Linked DNA regions of Homo sapiens: all the other regions are linked to region 3. Evidence: promoter capture Hi-C in 16 types of primary human blood cells and fetal thymus (Javierre and others, 2016). All regions are on one chromosome and are shown on one strand. Each heading gives the region's core, a stretch centred on a gene start or on the middle of the fragment in contact. The rest is flanking DNA. Distances are from core to core; before and after follow the strand shown.

Region 1 (2,700 bases), core at 109-2,608, 880 kb after region 3:
CTGGAGGGTAAGGTGTAAACCTGGTGACACATGGCCATGGAGTCAGCAGTGACTTCATACCCACATAAGAACTAAGATGCTACCTGTCCAGGAAACCAAGGAGGGCCCTATCTTGGACTCTACACTTTGAGGGCCCATGAGAACCCAAACAGCACACATCTATTCATGGATGTATGGAATGGGCACCTCTGTTCCTCGAGAGGTGTGCCCAGTGCTGCCCTGCATGACCCATGGCCCTGACCCTGCACACCTGCTCACTGGACTGGCATTGTCCAGCACCTCATCTCTTGCCCTATGTATGTCCTCAAAAGAAAATGTGATTGGATCCAAATGTTATGGATTTGGCTTGCAGGATCAGCTTAGGTTTATGGGTTGTGCCATTGCCAGCAGGAACATTGCTTCCATGTCTAGGAGGAATTGAACGTGGAAGCAATAGGAAAAAAATCTAAACTTCCAGAGGCTTCCTCTCAGATCACCTAAATGTAGTAGGTTCTCCATAAGAAATCTCATCTCTGAATAGTGCCAGACATGTATTTTTTTTTCTGCTCTTTGAGTTCAAATTCATAGTTTCATAGGTACTTATATATCATTGCAAAATTCACAATGGTTCTTCATTGCAGCCTGGAAATATTTCATGCTATTAAACAGCTCACTCCCTCTTAGATGCATATGTGTTGTTCTGGATGTATAATGTCACTTGCGTGAAGTATGACATAGATTCTTCATAGCACCCACTAGATGCAAAACAAACACCAGAAATGCTAACAGTTTAATTTTTAGATTTATTTTTTATTTTTAAAATCACAATAAGAATTTAATTTTATCAAATAATGTTTTTTAATTTTTTGTATTCTTTAATTATCATATACATTTTGCTTTTTGATTTTTTAGAGAAATCTTTAAAACTGTAGTAATAATAACATGCATTGGCACAGTTTCAACATCCTAACAAGACCTATCTATGTGTACACATGTTAGACTGGTAATGTATATTGTTGCCACTAGTGAGTACCTACTCTTTTGCAGATTCACAGGAAGTTGCAAAAATAATCAAAGAGGTCCCAGATCCCCTTGACTCAGTGTCTCTCAGTGATTCTATCTTACATAACTTAGTACAATATCAAAACCAGGGAACTGGCATTGATGCAATGTCTATCACTCCAGTTGTATTACATGCAGATTTATGTAACCACCAGGGTGCAGAACTATCCTGTGGCTGTAAGCTATCCCTCATGCTGTCCCTTGTAGTCACACCTGCCTTCTGCCCCATTTGTCCCTAACCCCTGGCCACCTCTCATCTGCTCTCCAACTCATTTAGAGAATGTTATATACATGAAATAATGCAGCCTATGTCCTTTTGGGACTGGCTTTTTTCGCTAAACGTAATGTCCTTGAGATCCACCCAAGTGGCTGCAAGCATTCATAGTCCTTTCCTTTTCATTGCTAGATAGAATCCATGGCATGGCTGTGCACAGGGTGTTTAACCATTCACCTGTTTAACCATCTTGACTGTTTCCAGTTTGAGGCTATTACAAATAAAGCTGCTTTAGAAGCCTCCCCTCACTCATCCTCACACCATGTGTGTTGGTTGGAACTGATTCCACCCTCAGCAGTGGGATGGATGCATGACCAAGGCCCACCATATGAGACTGTTCCCTGCCCCAGCTGCAACGATGGGTTCAGGTCTGTGCACATGATCCATGATGGTCCATTCAGAGGTCATCTCAAGGGTTTTGCTAAAACCATTAGGTTTTTTTTTTTTTTAACCAAAAATGTCTTGAAAAATTACAGTCAGCCCCTCTGGGCCTTGCAGTCCTCAGCTATGAAATAAGGATAAAAATCCCTGTGCTAACAGGTTAGTATGTATTTGTTCATTCAACAAACTAAGAAGTGTTTACTGGACCGGGCGCGGTGGCTCACACCTGTAATCCCAGCATTTTGGGAGGCCAAGGCGGGCGGATCTCGAGGTCAGGAGATCGAGACCATCCTGGATAACACAGTGAAACTCCGTCTCTACTAAAAATACAAAAAATTAGCCGGGCGTGGTGGTGGGCGCCTGTAGTCCCAGCTACTTGGGAGGCTGAGGCAGGAGAATGGCGTGAACCCAGGAGGCAGAGCTTGCAGTGAGCGGAAATCACGCCCCTGCACTCCAGCCTGGGGAACAGAGTGAGACTCCGTCTAGAAAAAGAAAAAAAAAAAAAAGAAGAAGTGTTTACTGAAGAAGTGTGGGGGAGCATTTCAAGAAGTGGGGAGCATTTCAAGAAGTGGGAAGCAGGTACAAAAGCCCTGGGGCAAGAAAGGAGTTGAGTGGCCAGTATGCTGAAAGCATAAATGCCAACAAGGTGGCAGTGGCAGGGTAGGGGGATTGAGCATGAACAGGACCAAGATAAACTAGAGAAACAGGCAAGGACCTCTCAGGGAGGGCCTTCTAAGATCCAGCAGGAAGTTTGGACTTGAGGCTCAACATGATGAGAAGCCATTGAGGTGTTTATGCAGGGAAATGGCATGCCCCAATTTACATTTTACTGCTGCATGGAGAATGGCCTGGGGACAATAGAGCATGCATAGAAGCCAGTGCAGAGGCTCTTGAATGAGGCCAAGCAAGAATGGCAGTGGCACATCTAGGGTGGTAATAGTGGAAAGAGAGAAAAAAGGATGGACTTGGGTTGTATCTTGGAAATAGAAGTGACTACAAGGCTT
Region 2 (2,700 bases), core at 53-2,552, 550 kb after region 3:
CTATGATCAGATGACAGAAGGAGGAAGAGAACCATCACAGATGGTTCTGCACAATATGCAGGCACCACCCGAAAATGGACAGCTGCAGCATTATAGCCCCTTTCTAGGACATCCCTGAAGGACAGCGGTGAAAGGAAATCTTCCCAGTGGGCAGAACTTTGAGCAGTGCACCTGGTTGTGCACTTTGCATGGAAGGAGAAATGGCCAGATGTGCGATTATATACTGATTCATCGGCTGTAGCCAATGGCTTGGCTTGATGGTCAGGGACTTGAAAGAAGCATGATTGGAAAAATGGTGACAAAGAAATTTGGGAAAGAGGTATGTGGACAGACCTCTCGGAGTAGTCAAAAACCATGAAGATGCTTGTATCCCATGTGAGCACTCACCAACGGGTGAACTCAGCAGAGGAGGATTTTAATAATCAAGTGGATAGGATGACCCATTCTGTTTCTGTGGATGCCACTCAGCCTCTTTCCCCAGCCACCCCTGTCATCGCCCAATGGGCCCATGAACAAAGTGGCCATGGTGGCCAGGATGGAGGTTATGCATGGACTCAGCAACATGGACTTCCACTCACCAAGGCTGACCTGGCTATGGCCACTGCTGAGTGCCCAATTTGCCAGTAGCAGAGACCAACATTGAGCCCTCTATATGGCACCATTCTTCAGGATGATTAGTCAGCTACCTGGTGGCAGGTTGATTATATTGGACCTCTTCCATCATGGAAAGGGCAGAGATTTGTCCTCACTGAAATAGACACTTACTCTGGATATGGGTTTGCCTATCCTGTATGCAATGCTTCTGCCAAGACTACCATCCACGGACTCACAGAGTGCCTTATTCACCATCAAGGTATTCCACACAGCATTGCCTCTGACCAAAGCACTCACTTTGTGGCTAAAGAAGTGCAGCAGTGGGCTCATGCTCGTGGAATTCACTGGTCTTACCACGTTCTCCATCATCCTGAAGCAGCTGGATTGATAGAACGGTAAAAATGGACTTTTGAAGTCACAATTACAATGCCAGCTAGGTGACAATACTTTGCAGGGCTGGGACAAGGTTCTCTAGAAGGCCATGTATGCTCTGAATCAGTGTCCAATATATGGCACTATTTCTCTTATAGCCAGGATTCATAGGCCCAAGAATCAGGGGGTGGAAATGGAAGTGGCACCGCTCACCATCACCCCTAGTGATCCACTAACAAAATTTTTCCTTCCTGTTCCCATGACATTACATTCTGGTGGCCTAGCGGTCTTAGTTCCTGAGAGAGGAACACTGCCAACAGGAAACACAACAACAATTCCATTAAACTGAAAGTTAAGATTGTACCTGGACACTTTGGGCTCCTTCAACAGGCTAAGAAGGGAGTTACAATGTTGACTGGGGTGATTGACCCGGACTATCAAGATGAAATCAGTCTGCTACACCATAACAGAGGTAAGGAAGAGTATGCATAACAGAGGTAAGGAAGAATACAGGAGATCCACTTGGGTGTCTCCTAGTATTACCATGCGCTGTGATTAAGATCAATGGGAAACTACAACAGCCCAATTCAGGCAGGACTACAAATGACCCAGACCCCTCAGGAGTGAAGGTTTGGGTCACTCTACCAGGAAAAAAACCACGACCTGTTGAGGTGCTTGCTGAAGGCAGAGGGAATCCAGAATGGGTAGTTGAAGAAGGTAGTCATAGATACCAGCTACAACTACATGACCAGCTGCAGAAACGAGGACTGTACCTGTCATGAATGTTTCCTCCTTCTTTCGTTAAAAACAGGTTTGTGCATGTATACACTTGTACTAAGAAAATATCTTCATTTTATTTCCTTTTTCTTTAACATGTGACATAAGATTTATTGACTTCATGTCAGCATTTAAGTGTTGCTAACTTCAGGTAATAGTATTTGGGTTGGGGATTGGTGTGTTTCCGGTTGTACAAAGGATAGTTTTATTAAGTTAGGTGTAATTATGACCTTATTGTTTTCTTTATTTGAAGATTATGTATGATATCAGGAGATGTGTGTGGGTTCAAGTTGACAAGGGGTGGCCTTGTGATGGTTAATAATGAGTGTCAACTTAATTGGATTGAAAAAAGTATTGATTCTGGGTGTGTCTGTGAGGGTGTTGCCAAAGGAGATTAATATTTGAGTCAGTGGGGTGGGGAAGGCAGACCCACCCTTAATCTGGTGGGCACAATCTAATCAGCTGCCAGAAAATATAAAGCAGGCAGAAAAACGTGAAAGGTGAGACTGGCCTAGCCTTCAGCCTACATCTGTCTCCCATGCTGGATGCTTCCTGCCTTCAAACATTAGACCCCAAATTCTTCAGTTTTGGGACTCAGACTGGCTCACCTTGCACCTCAGCTTTTAGACAGCCTATTGTGGGACTTTGTGATCATGTAAGTTAATACTTAATAAACTCCCCTTTATATATATATACACACACACATATATGTATGTATGTGTGTGTATAGATGCATATATGTATGTATATGTATACATATAGGTAGGTGTGTATATATATACATGTATGTATATATGTATGCATATATATGTATGTGTGTGTGTGTGTGTGTGTGTGTGTGTGTGTGTGTGTGTGTATATATATATATATATATATATATATATATATATATATATATATATCCTATTAGTTCTGCCCCTTTAAAGAACCCTGAGTAATACAGTGGCTTTCAATGAC
Region 3 (2,700 bases), core at 120-2,619:
CTCAGTCTCAAAAGTTGGGATCCACTATATATCTGCTTTTACTTTCAAGCATTGAAACTAATGTCAATCAACTGCCTTTCTATTCTTAATATTTTATCCAAGAAATCGCTAGAATTCTTTCTCCTTTAAAAAAAAAAAAAAGCAAGTTACAAGCCGGGCGTGGTGGCTCACACCTGTAATCCCAGAACTCTAGGAGGCCGAGGCGGGTGGATCACCTGAGGTCAGGAGTTCGCGGACAGCTTGGCTAACATGACGAAACCCCGTCTCTACTAAAAACACAAAAATTAGCTGGGCATGGTGGCAGGCGCCTGTAATCCCAGCTACCCGGCAGGCTGAGGCAGGAGAATCGCTTGAACCTGGGAGGAGGAGGTTGCAGTGAGCCCACATCGTGCCATTGTACTCCATCCTGGGCGACAAGAGCAAAACTCCGTCTCAAAAACAAAAACAAAAACAAAACAAACAAAAAAACCCACTACCACCAACAAAAACAAGTTACATTGTGGGTTGGGGCCGCTGACAGGAGGAATAAGATGATGTTATGGAGCATTTCCTAGTCCCCTTTCCGACCCCATTTCCCTATTGTCCGACTTCAGGCTTCCAAGTGAGGACAGCACTTCCCAGGCAGTGACCCGCAGTCACTGCCCTCCCAGAGGACGTCCTGCCTCGCGGCCCTGGAAAGTCCACCTTCTCCTAGCACCGATCCTGAGCTGAGAAGCTCTGTCTGGTACAGCCATCCTGCATCGTGGGCTGCTTCTTTCCCCAGGCGAAGCTCAACTTCCTCCCATTGTTCTGAACCTCTGTGTGGACATCTTCTTTCTTCAAACGCACCACGGTAAAATTCTCGCCTGCCTCGAAACCCCGCCTACCTCTGAGATCTGAGGACGGATACTAAACGCTGGACTTAAGGCAATGTACACATGTAAGCAGGCTCTGTAGGCACTCACTCCGCCCAGGTGCGCGCGTGGCGGAGGGGGAACAGAGAAGCAGGACAGCTCTCCATCCTTCCCGTGTTCAGTCGTGGGAGACAACAAGAGAGGTCACAGCCTGGCGACCAAAAAGTGCGGCTAACTTCCCTGCCCAAGCTGACTTTCTCTGCAGGGTTCAAGGTTAATTGTGAGGATTTACATTCGCATGGCACACCCGCATCCCCCTCTACGTGGAAATATGTCTTAACTTTCATAACTGCCTTGCCAGCAGGGTATTTTTCGCTAGGGGCGAAGCGTCCTTCGCAAGCCACCCAGCTGACCGGCAGCGGAGACAGCTTTCTCGCCCTGCTCGCACGCAAGTAGAAAGGCGCTGCTGAGCCCGTCCCTCCAAACCACGTGGTCTTGCCCGTGCTTAAAAACAAACGCTGAGCCAGGCGCATGCGCCACGGGCCTCCCCGCACCAGCAGAAGTCGGAGTCGCTGTTGGGGGCGGTGTCTATGGTTGAGCTGAGGGCGCAGGCGCCACGGCCCGTCGAGCTGGGTTCCAAGGCGGCTGGCGGCGGTAGCGTCTCTGTTTCCTTGTGGGCGCTCGCGCGGCCCTGGGTGAGTGTTCGGGGGTCCCGGCCGAATGTCGGGCAGGGGGTGTCGGGGCCCAGCTCAGGCTTCTCGGGCGGGCCGCGGCCCCGCGCCTTGGCCTCGCCGTGGTGATTGAGCCTGTCAGCGAGGACGCACTGTAGCGGGTCTTAGGGCCAAGTGCCCGCTTCCGGCGGCCTCACCTGAGACCGGAAGTAGCGCCAAGGAGCGCTCACCTGAGGCGGCTTGAGTCCCTGGCCGGCCAGCGACCCAGCTACTTCTCCGACTTTGTATAAGGCCCCCTGCGCGCAGGGTCAGCTGGGTCCTTTTTGATCTCGATTAAAATGCTGGAGCTGTTATTTTAAAGAGAGTCGGGCTAGATGTACGTCCGACGTTTTGGGCGTTGATAGAGTCAAATTGATAAGAGTGTGGGCGGATGAGGCAGGCCGCCTGTAAATGCTGCTGTTACGTGACTTCCACGCAGCGTCTTAACTGCTGTCATCCTGTGACAGGCAGCCCTCGCTTTTCTCCTCAACTTTTCCCATCATCTTCTTGTTGCTTTGTCTCCTCCAATCCATTATCCGCACAGTTGTCCAGGTGGTCTCTGGCATAAAGTAGGTCATGCCATCATCAGCCTACTTAACAGTTTTCAGAGTCATTCCATTGCACTGGGAGTGGAATCCATGCTCGTGTTTTCCCAGGCCTTGTGTGATTTGGCCCTTGCCTGTCCCCTCTCAGAACTGTGCCTGTGTCCGACCAACCCTCCAAATGAGACCCAGCTTGCCCCTGGCTGCGGGAGCCCCAGTGATGGGGGAGGACGGTGAAGATACTAGTGTCCCAGATGATTAAGCCTTAGAAGATACTCTGCAAGACTTAGGCCATGAACGGAGCCCTTCTCTGCTCTTCTTAACTCAAAGTTAAAAATAAAGTCAAAAATTCGGTGTTCCAGCCTTCTTGCATTTTCACAAGTGCATCAGCTCTTTCTAGTCTTAAAAGTTACGCACGTTGTTGGGAGGCCGAGGTGGGTGGATCACCCGAGGTCAGGAGTTCGAGACCAGCCTTACCAACGTGGTGAAACCCTGTCTTTACTAAATACGAAAAATTAGCCGGGCATGATGGCATATGCCTGTAATCCCAGCTAATCGGGAGGCCAAGGCAGGAGAATCGCTTGAACCCGGAAGGCGGAGGTTGCAGTGAGCCTG
Region 4 (2,700 bases), core at 137-2,636, 560 kb after region 3:
GCATTTAACCATTCAACTTTTATATGTTGTAACAGTATTTATTTTAGTGTGTGTCTGTGTGTGTGTGCATGTGTGTGTCTGTGTGTGTAATACTATATATATAATTTTATTTATTTACTTTTTCCCTGCAAAGAGCCTTGTCTTTTCCCTTCCTTTGCTGTAGGTACCCGTTCTGGAATGGTCTCAAATGCAACCTGCAGGTTTGGCCCCCTGGAGGAAGTGAGAAGAATGGAGATGAACACGTTTCTTGTGTCATGTCCTCATTCTGCCCAAGACACACCTACCCGGACCATGCCGTCTTGACTCCCGGTGATGATGATCTGGCTTGTGTCCCATGCTGGGCCCTCCATCAGGCAGCAGCAGGTTATGGCTCCTTCTGGGCCCCAGGCTGTGGTGATGCTGGCCAGGGGCTGTCCATTGACATTCCACAGGGACAAGTGTGCTCCCGCACAGGAGACAATGGTGCCCTGTGCAGTGAGAGCTGGCATCACTCTAAGCTGGAGTCACTGCCTGCCCATCAGCCACTTGCTCAGCTACCCAGTTGGTACACCCAAGTACTCTCAATCTGTCATGCTCTGAAGACCCCCAAGGTACCCCAAAACTTCTTTCCAGCTGACTTACAGGTCTGCTGTGTTTTCACACAGTTGTAAATTCTTGGTTCTTTTCATACTGCAGTCATGTGCTTAGATACTTCTTTCCTGGCAGAAGGCACCTGGCTCACCCTCAGGCTCCTCCCAGATCCCACTCCCCAACCACACCCTGACTGCCACAGAAGATCCAGCCTGAAGGGTAGCCCTGGCTTTGGACACACAGCTTACACCTGGTAGGTCAGCCCTGCCCCATAAAGAAGTTTTGGATGCCACCTGGTGGATGGCAGGGTACAGAAGTTCCAATGACTGCATGTGGCTCATAAGCTTGTGCAATGTCCCTGAAGAGGGAATTTCTAAGGAGAAATTTCCCCATTGTATCTCCTGATATGCTCACATTTGAGTCTTTCCTCCTCAAGTCCTGTTTATTCTATAGTGGCCACTGTCACCAAGGTCCTGGGGCCATCCCTTTGAGCCTTGCCCTAATCACAGAAGGGATGTAGGGTGCTCAGTGCCCCTCCACATCTCACTGGGCTGGGATCCATTAGAAGTTCCTGAATTGTTAGGGATGGTCTGTCTGAGGCCAGAGGCCATGTCTGATACCTCTCTGCCCCACAACCAGCAAGCACAGACTGAAATCAGTTGGCTGCAGGACAACTTGTCCTGGTGCCAGGCTTCTCTGGGGTCTAGGGACACAATTCCTGATGGGTTTTATATTCTCCCAGGTGAAGGCTTCAATGCCTTCTATACATCAACCCATCCATCCATTCACCCACCATCTACCAATCCATTATCCATTTCATCCATCTTTCCATCCACCTATTCATCCATTTATCTGCTCATTTATCCATCCATCCATCCATTCATTTATCTATCTACCCATCCACTCATCTATCCACCCGTCCATCCATCTATCCATTCATCCACCCATGCATCCACTCATCTACCCATCCATCCACCCATCCATTCACACTCCATCTACTCATCTAACATTGAATCCAGTTTTGAATTCAAGCCTACCTGGAGCACCACTTTCAGCAAAAATTGGAACCAGGAAGCTCCTATATCATCCCTCCTCTTTTGAGCCCTCTGCCCATTTTATTTATGCCCTGGGCCCCTTAGGTTTTCTGTGAGCAGATGCAGAAACCTCTGCATCCTCAGGGAACCCCATATCCCATGACAGGGCTTCAGTCTGGAAGAAATTTCACACCGGTAAGTCGATCTCCCTGGTCTTTGTTAGCCAGTATGGAAGGAGAGGCAGAGAAGCTTGCACTGCCATGAAGACCAAACCTGCCAAGTCAACACTGATTTGAAGGTAAAGACCTAAATGAGTCAGCCACATCCAACAAAACCCTCCCTAAAAGCCAATTTTTCAGCTGCAGCCCCCTGGTGCCCGCAGCAAAGCAGACACTTCCCACTGTCCCCAACACCAGAGGGAGGAAAGTAAAGAAGCGGACATTGAAGCTAGACCTGGGTGCTACAAGTGAGATCTACAGCGACTGTTCCACACAATTGGGGGCCCTCTCAGCATTCTGGGGTGGCTAGAGTCTCTGTGTCTCTGGGCTTTCTCCTGAGTGTTGTACCCCATGCTACTGCGAAGGTGAGGACACGGACACTGAGAAACAGGAGACTTACTGAGACGTCACTGATGGTGATGGCTGAGATGCCTTCCCGATGGGCGGGCAGGCGGGTCACGTGGGTGAGGTGGTCCAGATCCCACAGGATACAGGTGCAGTCCTGGGAGCCGCTCACCAGGAGGCTGAAGGTGACTGACGCTGCCAGGCACGTGACAGCCTGTGTGTGTCCATACAAGGCCTGGGGACAGAGACTCACAGGTTAGGAGAGGGACCCTCAATTCAGCTACTTTTGGGAATTCTTCACCCTCCCTATAAAGCTGGGTGCTGGATGAGGAAATGGAGATTCTGAGTGAGTCAGTGATTCCCAAGTCTGTTGTCTGTGCAGCTGGGGGTGTGTGCATGTGCGTGTCCATGACTAGCCTCTCCATTTCATTCATCTCCAGGGGTGGAGGCTCTGCTGGGGAGAAACCATTTTTTTACTTATAACCCAACCAGAGGCTAGCCACACCTGGATGTTTTGTGCTGCCCTACATCTA
Region 5 (2,700 bases), core at 100-2,599, 590 kb after region 3:
TATTTTTTTCACAGCTGTCTAATGCATTTTAGCTAAAGTAATATCTTTAAAACTTAGGCCTGTATTATTTATAAAGGAAGCAATAACTGATTTTCCTATTTGCTATATTAATAAATGTATTTGCATACATTTGTTTCAAAATTAATGGGTCTTCTCACTTCTGCAATACAAAAGAAAACACCAAATTCCCTAGAAGAAAAAGTGGAGTTGCTTTGTTACTTGTATTGTAAGTCTGTGGGTTGATGTAAACTCTGGTGGCTGCCAGCGAGCAGTCCCAGCTAAGATTGAATTCTCCGAAAGGAAGGAAGGAGGAAAGAAAGAGAAGAGGGAAAAATGGGGCAAGAAGGTAAGAGGCAGAGAGACCCAGTCAAGGTTTACAGAGTGTCTATCTAAGGAAAGTCCAGACCCAAATGAAATAAACCAGCACAATTAAGTCTAGAACTTGGAAGGGAACAAAGTGATCAAAGAGAATTCCTGAACCAAGAGCTGCTCTGGAATCTGTTCTGCAACAAATCCTACCTGTATCCAAACAAACTGTAAAAAATAATAGCAAGGTTATTATTGCCAACAAAGGAACAATTTCTTATTGGCAGAAGGTTTTCCCATGTGACATTTAGGCCAGAAGACAATGGAGCCAGCCAAGCCTAGAGGATTCTGAGGCAAAAGGTTACAGTTGTTGGATTTTGTGCTCAGTTAAGACATCACTCACATGTAAAGATGTGGGAACATTTTGAATATTGAAGAGTTCAGAAACAATATAATCCTAGGTACCTCTTCTCAATTAAAATCCTTTAGGAGGTGCTAAATATTGCTAAGAGATGAAGCAAAATTGAGGGCAAAATAATAGGAAAAGAAGTGGCTAGCAAGGACTATTCCTGCACATTGATCCAAGTTAAAATCAGGGGACAGTCTATAATTATGGTATGATGGCTAAAGCTGGAAAACCTGAAAAGAAATGTTCTATATTAAAGGAAATACTCCTTTCATGAGAGGACACAAAGTCTATGTGCACCATTGCCTATGGATGAGCATTTCAATCACTATTAGACATTCATAAACCCCTCTCCAATGTGGCTTCAATTCTTGGCCCACATTCACAGGAAATTCAGTAACTGCACATGCTGAAGGAAACCAAGATGCACAGATATTTCTATAATATATGCTAGAAAGTCTATTCTTCCTTCCTGATAACACTGATCCAAATCAACCTGCTGCCACATCTGGATATGGAAGTGGTTTTATCAGCAGGCTGACAACCCATTCTCACTGCAGATATTCTTTCCAGTAATTTAAAAGTACCCATGCAAACAACTCACTTACAGGACCCTGTTGATATATCAGTTGATCTAACCTGCTGTCTTTAGCCAATCAAAGAGGCAGTATGCAACGGTGGAAAGCACACTGGCTTCAGAAGCAGACTGGCTTGGGCAGGAAGTTCAGTGCCCACTTAACTTGCAGGATGAACTCAAGTGAGTTTCTTAATCTCTTTAACCGCCCATGCCCTTGTCTATGAACCCTGGATGATAGCTGTTGGTGTGAAAGCAATTGTGTGTGTGTGTGTGTGTGTGTGTGTGAGAGAGAGAGAGAGAGAGAGAGAGAGAGAGACATATCTCATGCGATGAAGCAGGCACATAGAAAGAGGTGCCAAATGAACCCAGCCCCTGTGTCCTTTTCCCTTCACAGACTAGGATTAGAACTAGGGAGCAATCCTGGGCTTGGGCCCTGATCTCAGTGTGCATGGGGAAGGCAACCAGGAGCTCCAAAGGAGAAGGGGATAGAAGTTATGGAAGGTAGGAGGTGGGGTACAGGGGGAAGTGAGGAGAGGCGGGATCTTCCAGTGGCGAGGACAGAGGTAGGAGGGTGGGGAATCTGAAGGACTGTGGGATGACAACAGGAAGGAGAGCCTGAACTGTCAGGGCAGCTTTTGGTAGCAACAGCACCTCAGAAGTAACGGGGCAAATGTGTGAGGGGAAAGGAAAGCTGGACCCAGCATTCTCTGAGCCTCTGCAGGAAAAAGCCAGGCCCTGACACGCTACTGAATAAGCTAAAGGCATAGGACCCTCATGGCGTTGGGAAGCCCACGCACTGGTCCAGCTGCCTCCTTGGTCTTGCTCTCACAGAGGACGGGATGACCCCAGAGTGGCCATTAGCTTTCCTTCCTGTAGGTGGTGGCTCTTTTCTAAATGAGTGAACCCGTCAAGACTTGCTGAAACCACGCTGCCTGCATTAGGAGGAGGAGGGTGGGCACGTAGGGGACACTAAGGTCAGCCAAAATGGCTCATGTCGTATCTCCTTTAGTCCTCACCACCCTCCCAGCTAGGGGTTATTTTAAAGGATGAAGAAACTGAGGCTCCGTTGTTCAATAATGCCAATTAGAAAGTTCTAGAGCCAGGAGATTATCCCGGGACTGTCTGTCTCTATTGCACGTGCTTTTCCAATACTCCTCAAGTCTGTATGATAAAAACCAGACGGTGTTGGAGATCCTGAATGATTCTCCTCAAGTCACACTTTGGGCCCTTACAGATCCCATGCCCTTTCACTGTAATCAGAGGGAGGCTGGCAGTTTCTATGTCTAGCCCCACAGCCCTGGCTGCATTGGGTAGGCTGGCCCTATGTGAGCCTTAGGGTACCAGGAGGTGGGTTGCTTGCCTCAGAGGCAGGGGCTGAGCTGCAGGCAGCAAGTGAAGAGGCAGGCATGGT
Region 6 (2,700 bases), core at 12-2,511, 650 kb after region 3:
GTACGGCTAAGATGAAGTTGGAAATTAGGAGTACCAACATCATAGGTGGTCTTAGGTACCTTAGCATGGCCCTTGGGTTTTATTGTGGTTGCAACAGAAAGCCATGGGAGAGTTTGTTTCCAAAAGATGACACTGACTGCTGGGTGGAGATGGCATTAGAAAGGGTCAAGACTGAAAGGAGGGTGCCCCGTTGTGTTGCTATTTCAGTGGTCTGGGATGGATGGCAGAATGCAGAGGGAAGGAAGTGGGTGTATCTAAACAAGAAGATGGAGAATTGACAGGAGCTGCTACTGGACTAACTGGAAAGCAAAAAGAAGAAAAAGAAAAGAAAAGGAAAGGGAAAGAAGGAAGAAAGGAAGGAAGGAAGGAAAGAGGGAGGGAGGGGGAGGGGAGAGGAAAGGAGGGGAGGGGAGGGGAGGAGACGGAGGATGAATTGAGGATAAATGATAAATGTCTACTTTGGGACTTGAGTAACTGTGTGGCATTCCCAGGTTCTCTAGTAGTCTTCCCCAGGGGCAACCACCATTACCACTTTATTGGATATTCTTCCAAAGAGATTGTATGAATACATTAGCATGTTTATACATATTCTTTTTTACACAAAGAACATTTATATGCTTACTGCTCTGCATCTAGACTTTTCTCTTAACAATTCATCTTAGATAATTTTCCAAATCATTTATCATAGAGCTGTCTAATTCTTATTAATAGTTGCAGACTATTCCCTTGAATGGATATGCTACAGTTTATTTGACCAGTCAGTCCTTTTTTGATTCAGGTGGCTTTCAAATGTTTTGACATAACAGGCAATGCTACAATGACCATCCTTGCAGATAAGTCATTTTGAATACACAAGTAAATCTGAAGCATAAATTTTTTTTTTTTTTTTGAGATGGAGTCTCGCTCTGTTGCCCAGGCTGGAGTGCAGTGGCGAGATCTCCACTCACTGCAAGCTCCGCCTCCTGGGTTCATGCCATTCTCCTGCCTCAGTCTCCTGAGCAGCTGGGACTACAGGCACCCACCACCACGCCCGGCTAATTTTTTGTATTTTTTAGTAAAGATGGGGTTTCACCGTGTTAGCCAGGATGGTCTTGATCTCCTGACCTCGTGATCCGCCCGTCTTGGCCTCCCAAAGTGCTGGGATTACGGGCGTGAGCCACCGCGCCTGGCCTGAAGCATAAATTTCTATAAGCAGAATTGCAGGTCAAGGGTATGGGCATTTTTAATTCAAGTAGCCATTGCCAGATTACCCTCCCACAAGGTGACACTAATTTACACTCCCACCAGGACTATCAGGAAGATTATGTCAGGCTGCTTAAACTTTTTCTCTTATTGTACCTTTTCCCAGATGAGACTCAGAGACCCCAACCTCAGGTTCACATGATGAGATGATGTGGCTCTGCAATGCCAGCCCTGGCCTATGTGCCTCCAAACCCTCTCTCCTCCCTGTGACACCAGGCCCCCACCACAGCCTCCATGGTGCCTGCACCAGGGTCTCAGAGCACATGCCTATGATCTGGTGCTTCCCTTTGGGAAGACTTAAGTATCAACCAGAATAAGCCAAACCACAAGAAAAATGTCTGGTGAGAGCTGGGTTAATAGCTTAAACATTGATTCTGCTAGAAAAGAAATGGCATTTTAAAAACTAGAAAATGAACCCAAGTGAACTATTACCTGCTCTTCCATTTAAATTAGCCCTAGGAGGGCTCCATCCCTAAGTTTACTCATGATTAAGAAATCCCTTATGCCATGATTCTATTGATCACTTTAAAGAGTAGAACTTTTGCCTCATAAGTAGAGCTTTTTTAAGATCAACTGAATGATATATTAGCACTCTTGATGGGTAAAATAACTAAGAAAGTAGCCACAGCTAGCTCTGTGTATGATGACAAACAGGTTGTCCAGAAATCAACAAAATGCTGGAGCGAAAGTTAGAAGGTGTCTTAGTCCATTATCTGCTGCTATAACAGAATACCCCAGACTGGGTAATTTATAGAGATAAATGTTTATTTGGCTATTGGTTCTGGTGGACAGGAAGTCCCAGAGCATGGCACTGGCATCTAGTGAGGGTCACCCCATGATGGAAGGGCGGAAGCTGGAAGTGAGCATGCAAGACAGAGACAGAAATGGGGCTGAACTTATCCTTTTTATCAGGATCCCACTCCCATAATAATGAACCCATTCCTGCAATAATGGCATTAATCTATTCATGAGGGTCATGCTCTCATGGCCTAATCACTTCTTAAAGACCCCATCTCTTAATACTGTTACAATGGCAATTAAGTTTCCAACACAAGAATTTTGGGGGACATTCAAACCATAGCAGGGAGACAACAATCTACTGGGACATTCAGTGGTAGCACACAGCAGCACATTCTTCTAAAGTCAGGCCTCAGTGGTACATCTATAATGGGCAAGGTCAACCGGATACTCTCTAAAGTTTTCTCTAGCATTAGCAGTCTGCAACTTGGTGAAATACCCTGATTTTATAGGTAGGAAAACTGAGGTCCAGAGAGGTGACTGAAGGTACCCAGCAACAGAGCTGCCAATATATGCATTCCCTTACGTTTGTGTGTACGGTGAGTGAGTCTGCTGCAAAGAAAGCTTTAGCCCTGCTCCCATTTATCATCTGCCCTCTTCCTACATCTCTGCTTGCCTCAACCTTGTTCTGAATACATTCTAATAGTATTGGCATATGGA
Region 7 (2,700 bases), core at 117-2,616, 890 kb after region 3:
GTTTTAGGGCATTTCCGGCACCTCAAAAAATTCCCTCAAGCCCATCTGCAACTAACCCTTCCTCCCAACCCCAACCTAAGGAAACCATTGATCTGCTTTTTGTCTTCATAAATGTGCCTTTTCTGGACATTTTCTATAAACGGAAGCATAAACTGTGTAGTGTTTTGCATTGGGCTTCTTTCATGTAGCATAACGTTTTGAGGGTCATTCATGTTCTCGTGTGAATCAGTGATCAGTGTGCTCCTTTGTAGCTGAGTAATACTCCCTTGTAGGGATGCACATTGTGTTTCTCCGCTCACCCGTTGATGGACTTTTGGGTTGTTTTTGGATTGGGATTATTACGAATGATGCTGTTATGAGCATTCACATGCATATGCTTCTGTGAACACACGGCTTTCATTTCTCTTGCTGGGTCGTATGGTAGGTTTATTTTTTAATTTTTAAGAAACTGTCAAAATGTTTTCTGAAATCTCTGTACCATTTTACATTCCCACCGTCATACAATCCCACCTCATACATAAGGGTCCCAATGTTTCCACATCCTCACCAACACTTGCTATTGTTTTATTATAGCTATCCTAGCGGGTGTAAAGTGGTATTTTATTGGGGATTTGATTTGCATTTGCTTAACCATTAATGATGTTGAATGTACTTTCCTGTGCTTATTAACTATTCATATGCCTTTTTATTTCCATTTTTATATTTTTTGATACTGAGTTTTGCTCTTGTCGCCCAGACTGGAGTGCAATGGCGTGATCTCGGCTCATTGCAACCTCTGCCTCCCGGTTCAAGCGATTCTCCTGCCTCAGCCTCCTGAGTAGCTGGGATTACAGGCACCCACCACCACGCACAGCTAGTTATTGTCTTTTTAGTAGAGACAGGGTTTCACCATGTTGGCCAGGCTGGTCTCAAACTCCTGACTTTAGGTGATCCACCCCTCTCAGCCTGCGAAAGTGTTGGGATTACAAGTGTAAACCACCAAGCCCAGCCTGTTTGTATGTCTTCTTTGGTAACATGCCTATTTAAATTTTTTGCCCATTTTTAAATCAGGTTGTCTGTCTTATTAGAGTGGTAAGAATGTTTACATGTTCTAGATACAAATCTATTATCAGATATATAATTTGCCTAAATTTTCTCCTAGTCTGTGGCTTGACTTTTAATTTTCTTAATGGTGTACTTAAATTTTAAAGTGCAAAAAATCTTAATTTTGTCGAAGTTCAGTTTTTCTATCTTTTCTTTTATGAATCATGCTTTTGATATGGTATCTAAGAGTCCACCTAACCCAACATCACAAACACTTTCTCCTGTGTTTGTTTCTAGAAGTTGTATGGTTTTAGCATCTACATTTAGAGCTAAGACCAATTTTGAGTTAATTTTTGTATATAGTATGAGGTACAGTCAAAGGGTTGTTTTGTTGCTTGTTTGTTTGAAGGGTTTTTGTTGTTGTTGTTGTTGTTGCTGCTGCTGTTTCGCTTATGGATAGCCAATTGTCCCAACACCATTTGTTAAAAAATTTTCCTTTCCCCACTGAATTGCCCAAGCTCCTTTGTGAACTATCAGCTAGCCACAAATATTGGGGTTTACTTCTGGATTCTCAATTATATTCTATTGACCTGTAGACCTATCCTTGTGCCTATACCATACTATCTTGATTACTATAACTTTGGAGAAAATGTAAAAATAGGTAGTGTGTAACTTTATTCTTTTACAAAATTATTTTGCCTATTCTAGGCCCTTTGTGTTTTTATATAAAATTTCAAATTAGCATGCCAATTTCTCCACCCCATAAAATGTTTCTGAGATTTTGATAGGAATCACATTGAATTTGTAGATTCATTGGAAGATAATTGCCATCCTGACAATATTGATTCTTTAACTTCATGAGAAAGAAATGTACTTCTAATTATTTATATCTTCTTAATCTTCTCTCAGAAGTGTTTTCTGCATGTCTTCACATCATTGTTAAATTTATTTCTAAATAGTTTATTCTTTTTGATATTATTGTGAATGGTGTTGTTTTCTTAATTTCATTTATGGAGTTTTTGTTGCTGATGTGTAGGTATACAATTGATTTTTGCTATGTCCATCTTGTATTCTGCAACTTTGAAAAACTTATTAGTTCTAGCAGATTTTTAAATTAGTTCTTGTGATAATTTTCCAAACACAGTATCATATCATCTGCAAATAAAGACAGATTTTCTTCTTCCTTTCCAATCTGGCTTTAAATTTTTCTCTGCCTCTCTTCCCCTCCTTCCCTCTCCCGACCCTCTTTTTTCCCTTTGTCTCTCACTGTCTATTGTACTGGATAGAATAATACAGTATATTGTTGACTAGAAGTGGAGAAAGTGGCTACCTCTGCCTTTGTCCTTATTTTAAGGGGAAAGCATTCAGTATTTTCATGGTTACATATGATATTGGTCTCTGGGTTTGTCATAGATACCCTTTAACACATTAATTTCCCTTCTACTCCTAGTTTGTTGAGAGTTGTTGTTTTTTAAAATCATGAATGGCTATTGGATTTTGTCAGATGCTTTTCTGCATCCATTAGATGATTATATGGGTTTTGTCCTTTATTCTATTTCTATTAATAAAATATATAGATGTGTAATAGATGTACAACATTAATTGATTTTTTCAGGTGTCAAACTAATGTTACATTCCTGGGATAAATCCCATTGATTCATGGTGTATAATCCTTTT

Evidence for each region. The method cuts DNA at HindIII sites, captures the fragments that hold promoters and counts their contacts. A CHiCAGO score of 5 or more calls a contact.
Region 1: a contact is called between a fragment that was not itself captured here and the fragment with the promoter of ERCC6 in region 3, in 4 of 17 cell types (neutrophils, endothelial precursors, monocytes and 1 more). The highest score is 5.4, in neutrophils.
Region 2: a contact is called between a fragment that was not itself captured here and the fragment with the promoter of ERCC6 in region 3, in 1 of 17 cell types (M0 macrophages). The highest score is 8.9, in M0 macrophages.
Region 4: a contact is called between a fragment that was not itself captured here and the fragment with the promoter of ERCC6 in region 3, in 5 of 17 cell types (naive B cells, M0 macrophages, M2 macrophages and 2 more). The highest score is 9.5, in naive B cells.
Region 5: a contact is called between a fragment that was not itself captured here and the fragment with the promoter of ERCC6 in region 3, in 1 of 17 cell types (M0 macrophages). The highest score is 5.6, in M0 macrophages.
Region 6: a fragment that was not itself captured here is called in contact with the fragment with the promoter of ERCC6 in region 3 in 1 of 17 cell types (M0 macrophages); the score reaches 5.6 in M0 macrophages.
Region 7: a contact is called between a fragment that was not itself captured here and the fragment with the promoter of ERCC6 in region 3, in 1 of 17 cell types (neutrophils). The highest score is 6.6, in neutrophils.

What each region holds. Positions count from the first base shown.
Region 1 is chr10:48,661,455-48,664,154 of GRCh38, reverse strand. No RefSeq gene overlaps it. Among named protein-coding and RNA genes, the nearest start is that of WDFY4, 22 kb to the left of the region's middle. The HindIII fragment of the contact is 2,889 bases long and covers 1-2,700 here.
Region 2 is chr10:48,990,699-48,993,398 of GRCh38, reverse strand. No RefSeq gene overlaps it. Among named protein-coding and RNA genes, the nearest start is that of MIR4294, 6.5 kb to the right of the region's middle. The HindIII fragment of the contact is 3,569 bases long and covers 1-2,700 here.
Region 3 is chr10:49,537,790-49,540,489 of GRCh38, reverse strand. It overlaps ERCC6 (ERCC excision repair 6, chromatin remodeling factor), which reads left to right and starts at 1,369. Exons shown (of 21, transcript NM_000124.4): 1 at 1,369-1,528. RefSeq lists enhancers at 687-926, 957-1,016 and silencers at 1,437-1,726, 2,672-2,700. The HindIII fragment of the contact is 12,532 bases long and covers 1-2,700 here.
Region 4 is chr10:48,974,564-48,977,263 of GRCh38, reverse strand. It overlaps WDFY4 (WDFY family member 4), which reads right to left. Exons shown (of 62, transcript NM_001394531.1): 58 at 2,223-2,402; 59 at 285-467. LOC105378298 (a long non-coding RNA gene) reads left to right here. Exons shown (of 4, transcript XR_007062370.1): 4 at 164-285. Among named protein-coding and RNA genes, the nearest start is that of MIR4294, 9.7 kb to the left of the region's middle. The HindIII fragment of the contact is 939 bases long and covers 917-1,855 here.
Region 5 is chr10:48,952,208-48,954,907 of GRCh38, reverse strand. All of the region lies in intron 51 of WDFY4 (WDFY family member 4), which reads right to left. Among named protein-coding and RNA genes, the nearest start is that of LRRC18, 14 kb to the right of the region's middle. RefSeq lists an enhancer at 2,275-2,700. The HindIII fragment of the contact is 6,093 bases long and covers 1-2,700 here.
Region 6 is chr10:48,885,968-48,888,667 of GRCh38, reverse strand. All of the region lies in intron 43 of WDFY4 (WDFY family member 4), which reads right to left. Among named protein-coding and RNA genes, the nearest start is that of LRRC18, 53 kb to the left of the region's middle. The HindIII fragment of the contact is 2,691 bases long and covers 1-2,606 here.
Region 7 is chr10:48,645,402-48,648,101 of GRCh38, reverse strand. It overlaps a transcript of ARHGAP22 not described here. Among named protein-coding and RNA genes, the nearest start is that of WDFY4, 38 kb to the left of the region's middle. The HindIII fragment of the contact is 3,792 bases long and covers 1-2,700 here.